Linked DNA regions of Homo sapiens: region 1 is linked to region 2. The links are contacts of gene promoters, found by promoter capture Hi-C in blood cells and fetal thymus (Javierre and others, 2016). All regions are on one chromosome and are shown on one strand. Each heading gives the region's core, a stretch centred on a gene start or on the middle of the fragment in contact. The rest is flanking DNA. Distances are from core to core; before and after follow the strand shown. Region 1 overlaps ELFN1 (extracellular leucine rich repeat and fibronectin type III domain containing 1). Region 2 holds the start of MAD1L1 (mitotic arrest deficient 1 like 1).

Region 1 (2,749 bases), core at 208-2,707, 530 kb after region 2:
ACCACCACTGCCGTGACCTGGACAAGCCCCTGGAATGCTGTGCCTCAGTTTCCCTCCCTGTAGAACAAGGACGATCGTGACCATCCCTTTGTCAGGGTGAAGGCTCACAGTTCAATCTCGTCTGGAACCGCAGGCTGGGGAACCTCAGAGACCACTGGGCTGGAGGGGTCAAAGCTAAGAACCCACCCTGGAAAATACACAGGCAGTTTTGTCTGTGATATTCGGGGGCTCATCAGACCTCCCCGAGGACCATCCCGGGACACTAAGACTCTACTTTACAGAAGGGCAACAAATCTGTGCAGGATGTTGTGGACAGGAAACCGAGGCCCAAAGCCATCCACTGAATTGCCATGAGCCAGAAAGGGCAGGGCCAGAAAGGGCAAGGGCCCAGAGGGACAGCAGCCCCCAGAGGCGAGGGTAAATTGAGGCTCCGAGTGGCTGATCACACAGGTGCATGGTGAGGCTGTGAGGCCTGCCATCTGAGGTGCCCACTGTGTGCCGTCGGAAGGGGGGCCCAGCAGTGCCCTCGGGCAGGCAGTGGCGGCTGCCACGCTGGACTCACTCCCCTGGCACCCTGGCGGTTGGGGGGAGCTCCTCCTCCTCCTTCCAGGATGAAGAACAACTCATCAACTTGCAAATGTCCGGGTGAGAGGGTTGGAAAAATGAAGGCGCCCAAACTTGACATTTGCATTTCAAACACTTATATCAGCAAAACAAATAACAGTAATTATACCATTTGCATATTTTGTGCAATGATTGTTTAGCGAGGTGGGGAGGAGGGGCGCCTGCTGATGCCAGCAGCCCAGCCTCCCGCACAGCTGTGCCGCCCCGCCCAGGGTCCCTGCCACCCTGCACCTCCATGCTGCCCACCCCTTGGCCCTGTGGGTGTGACCTGCAGCCCTCAGGCTGTTACCTCCTGCGGGCTCTGCCCTTTGGCCACTGGGTGTCCCTCTGTTCTCCAGTACGCGCCCCCCACCCCAGCAGGTCTCCACCTCTGCCCTCTGCACTTGCTGTGCCCTCTGCCTGGGAGCCTCTCGCAGACCCACCCAGGCTGGCTCCTCTGTTCAGGGCCCATCCTCACTGTCCCCGTCTCCACATTCTGACGGGGACACGCACGGCTGCCTTCTCTCCAGCCGGGAGCTCCATGAGGCTCTAAGCTGACCTCGAGCCCTGGTGGACAGGGCTGACCCTTGGTGTGGGGCCTGCCCAGCCCACACCCCAGCATACAGCAGGCAGGCCCTCAGCAGACAGGTGACGTTGCCACTCAAGTCCCTGCCCCCTACTGGGGGGCTGGGCACCTGGCTGTGGAGGGGTGCCCAGACCTGGCACTGACCTCGCAGGGGTGACGTGATGTGGGGTCTCAGAGTGAGGGAGACGGGACTCCCAAGCAAGGGCAGTGGGTGATCTGACTGCGTACCCCAGGTCACACTCAGGACCCCAAGCTGACCCCCACCTAGTACTGCTGTAGGTGGAGCCTCCTGGGGTGGGGAGGAGTCGAGACCCAGTGACCCACATGGCTTTGTGTGTATCACCATGTGTTTACGGAGGGTCTGGCTGTGTGTGAGCACGTGTGCACATGCATGAGTGTGTGTGCATGCAGGTGTGCTTGTGTGTGCATGTGTGAGTGTCTGTGTGCTTGTGTGTGTGTATTGTAGGTTCTCCAGACAACGCTGGTCCTTTTGTCCGGATCAGGACCAAGAGACTGGGTCTCTGGGTGCCCATTCCCCACAGCCCAGTTTTGGGGTGAGGAGGGGGAGAGTATGGCCTCCATCGGTGCTGGGAAAAGGAGGTGGCCCCACCCACCAGCCCACTCACAGCTGGCAGGGTCCCCCACCCAGAGGCCACCATGCCCGGCTGCAGGCTCCCTTCTCCTGAGTGGCAGCCGTAACAAGAACAACAGCGGTTGTGCACCTGTGGCAAATGCCAGGCCCTCCCATGGGCTGACTTGCAGAACCATCCTCCAGCCCCACGAGGAGGTGGAAACTCCAGCTTTATTATCCCTGTTTTCAGATGGAGAAACTAAGGCACACCGCAGTGACACCTCTTGCTGAAGGTCACACAGAAGAGCCGGGATTTGTACTGAGCCCTCCCGGCCCCTTGCTTTTTGCAGGACAAACCCCCCAGCACACAGTCCGGCGACAGCCCTTACAGGACAGGTGTCATCAGTACCCGCATTTCACAGACTGGGAAACCGAGTCTCAAACATACACAGAGACCTCCCCAAGGTTACACTGGATGTAGCTAAACTCGGCCGAGAGTTCTTTGCTTTGGACTGAAACTCAGGCAGAGGCTGCCAGTAGGATTGTCCCCGTGGTAATTAGGGCTCCACAATCAATCCCAGCGCACAAGATGCCACCTCCCTGCTTCCTTTAATCTCCCCCGCTCAGCACCGACAGAGGAAGCTGAGCCCAGAGACTTGGAAGTGCAAATGAGGCCCCATCCCCTGGTAAACTGCAAGCGGCAATTAACTCCTCACTTCACACCCCACAGCCCCACAAATTCCAGACGGGGTAAGCAGTTAAATATGAAATATTAAGCCATAAAAAAGCTGGAAGAAAACAGAATTCAATACTTATCAGTTCTCAGGAGGGAAACAGGCTTTCCAAGCTCAGAAGGAAGAGAATAAATTTTAAAAGAAAAAGGAGGCAGATTTGACCAAATAAAAATAAGAAAAAGGAACACAAAAAGTAACCCAAATTAAAAGCTGTATAGCAGAGAGGGAAAGATATTTGTGGCGAATGTGACAGAT
Region 2 (2,700 bases), core at 104-2,603:
AAAGCAAGCAGTGATGTGGTGTGTTTATTTTCTTTTACTCATCTAGGAACTTGACGCAGCTTTATATTTAATAAAATAATAGAGATTGCATTATTTTAAGGTACTTTCATGCTTTGAAGTTTTGTTTTTTTTAAACTGGCTTCCTCAAAGCCATTTCCTGGAGGTGTACTCATCCCTCAAGAAGAGTTTGTTGACTATGATTAAATTCCAAGGACCAGTGGGGGAAGTCTGGAAACCCAGGAATCTCCATCAGGAATCTGGGGCTCTGTCCAGCTCCCCGAAGGAAACTGCGGGTCAGATGTTTTGATTTTTTTTTTTCTTTGAGAAACAGAATCTCACTCTGTCACCCAGGCTGGAGTGCAGTGAAGTGATCTTGGCTCACTGTAAGCTCCACTTCCCGGGTTCACGCCATTCGGCCTCAGCCTCCCGAGTAGCTGGGACTACAGGCGCCCATCACCACGCCCGGCTATTTTTTTTTTTTTTTTTTGTATTTTCAGTAGAGACGGGGTTTCACCGTGTTAGCCAGGATGGTCTCGATCTCCTGACCTCGTGATCCGCCTGCCTCGGCCTCCCAAAGTGCTGGGATTACAGGCGTGAGCCACCGCGCCCGGCCGCCAGATGTTTTGACTTTTCATTTTATTTCTGGTTGCAGTCAGGTTGTTAAGTCCAGGGACTCTTGCCCTACTCCACCTCGTTCTCTTATTCCATTTCATTCCCGGGGCACACAACTTGGAAGTCTTTCTCTGAAAGAAGGAAAATTCATTGCAGACCCTTAGGAACAGCATCTTCTTAGAGGGAAGCCAGGGGCTGGGCAGAGACGGGAGGAGGAGAGGAAGAGAATATGGAAACGAGTAAGGCACACTCTTCTCAGGAAGGCTCCAATTTGAAGGATAGACAAAGGTTACCATAATAATGGTGGGGCCTGACCTCACCCCATTGGATGCTGTGCCCTGGCTTGCAGAGCACTGGGAAGGTAGCCTAGTAGCATAAATTGCATTTCTAGTGGGCCCAGAAAAAAGCAAAATAACGGATTGATTCAAGCTGATACTGAGTAGCAAAATTTTGGGAAGAGTCAACGGTGCAAGTTTGTCCGAGGAGGCTGCCGTGGGCGCGGCTATTCCACACATTACGGCGCGAGGCGAAAGCCTTAGTGGAAGCGCGTCCTGCGCAAAGCCGGGGGGCCCCCGACTGCGCCTTGGCTCAGCCTTCGGTTCCGAGTCCTTTCCGTGCGGAGTCTCCCAGGGGTGGCGGCTCCGGGTGCGGACGCGGAGTCCCCAGGATCAGCCGGTGCGCAGACTCGGTTCTTTACGGCCCGATTGCCACGCAGGTCTCGCGAGAGCGCAGGCGCAAGTGTCGCGATAAATGGGCGCCGGCGGAGCGGAGGGAGATCCGAGCGGCGGCGGCAAGCTGGCTGCGAGCGGCTGAGGTAAGCGGCCCGGCTCGCGCGGGCGGCGGGGTCCCGGGGTCCCGGGGGTCCCGGGAATGGCAAGGGAGGGGCCGAGGGCCCGGACCGGGTGTGCTCGCCAGGGTGGGGCACAACGACCCAGACCCCGTGCCTCAGGACCCCGCGCCCGCCCCGTCTCCCATGGGCGCGCTCTCCTCTCTGTGCTCTCCCCTCCTCTCCCCACTCCCCTGTCCCCACTCCCCCTTTGGGCTGTGCTGGGGACAGCGGGCCCCTCGCCTGGGTCTCCGCAGCCGTCCCTTGTGCCAGGGCGGGCGGCCGAGGGGCGCGTGCTCGTGGTCCCAGCCCCGGGGTCCCGCTGCCTACCGTGTGGGTCCCCGGGCTAGGGTGCCGGCGCGCCGAGGAAGGGGCCTGAGCTGGCGCCTGGTGGAGAAGTCGGGGCTGCAGGGGCTCTTGGCATCCTGGTGGCTCGCGCCGGTCCGCTCTCAGGAAGGGGGCGTGTGGGCCCGGTTTCCCCTCGGGGATGGCAAGGGCCACCCTGATCTCGTTTGGGCAATGGAGGAATTGGGCTGTGGAGCCTCCTTCCAGGCGGGCCTGCCTCTGCGGGGCTGGCAGCCTGGGGAGCTCAGGCCTCTGCTTGCACCAGGCCAAGGTTCTTGTTAAATGGAAACTCAGAAACTGTGCAGCTGCAGAAGTTCTACCTTTGGCTTTTAAACGCGCTTGGCTGTTCCCTAGTTGTGGCTGGTGGGCCGGCCTGCCATGAGCCCATAGTAAGCGCCGGTGTTGGGGGTGCAAAGTTCTTTACTGCGGTTTGTCTTCAGCCTTCCAAAGCCAGACAGACCCAAGTTCCAATCTCCGTTCTGTAACTTTTTGAAGCTTCGGTTTCATCATCTCTAGAATCTGTGTAAAAAGACCTAATTCACCACCCTGTTGAGACTGAGCTTACAAATATAGTGCTGGTCAACCTGCAGCCGTATTCCCATCATCTAGCGGTGGAAGACTTGAGGGATATTGGCCCCGTTCCCCACAACTTTGCAAGTAGATTTCACTGTCATGAGTTTACAGATGAGGAAACTGAAGTTCAAGAAGTCTCGGTGCTCGGAAATGTCAGATACCTTTCTTTCTGATACCTAGTTGAAAATAGTAGTAGTACTTATTAATGTCACTAGAAATAAACAATGAAAATGAGCACAGCTGTGATGATCATCATCTTTACTGTCACTGTTGCATGCCTCGTTTCTGATTCCCAGAGGCCAGATTTTTTTTTTAATTAATTATTATTATTTTTTGAAACGGAG

The links. The method cuts DNA at HindIII sites, captures the fragments that hold promoters and counts their contacts. A CHiCAGO score of 5 or more calls a contact.
Region 1: a fragment that was not itself captured here is called in contact with the fragment with the promoter of MAD1L1 in region 2 in 1 of 17 cell types (M2 macrophages); the score reaches 5.6 in M2 macrophages.

Annotation. Positions count from the first base shown.
Region 1 is chr7:1,703,292-1,706,040 of GRCh38, reverse strand. All of the region lies in intron 2 of ELFN1 (extracellular leucine rich repeat and fibronectin type III domain containing 1), which reads right to left. Among named protein-coding and RNA genes, the nearest start is that of LNCRI, 10 kb to the right of the region's middle. RefSeq lists enhancers at 1-512, 513-1,222. The HindIII fragment of the contact is 7,510 bases long and covers 1-2,749 here.
Region 2 is chr7:2,231,598-2,234,297 of GRCh38, reverse strand. It overlaps MAD1L1 (mitotic arrest deficient 1 like 1), which reads left to right and starts at 1,353. Exons shown (of 19, transcript NM_001013836.2): 1 at 1,353-1,426. It overlaps MRM2 (mitochondrial rRNA methyltransferase 2), which reads left to right. Exons shown (of 3, transcript NM_013393.3): 3 at 1-103. RefSeq lists enhancers at 1-500, 1,235-1,364, 1,150-1,444 and silencers at 1,079-1,457, 1,435-1,854. The HindIII fragment of the contact is 9,650 bases long and covers 1-2,280 here.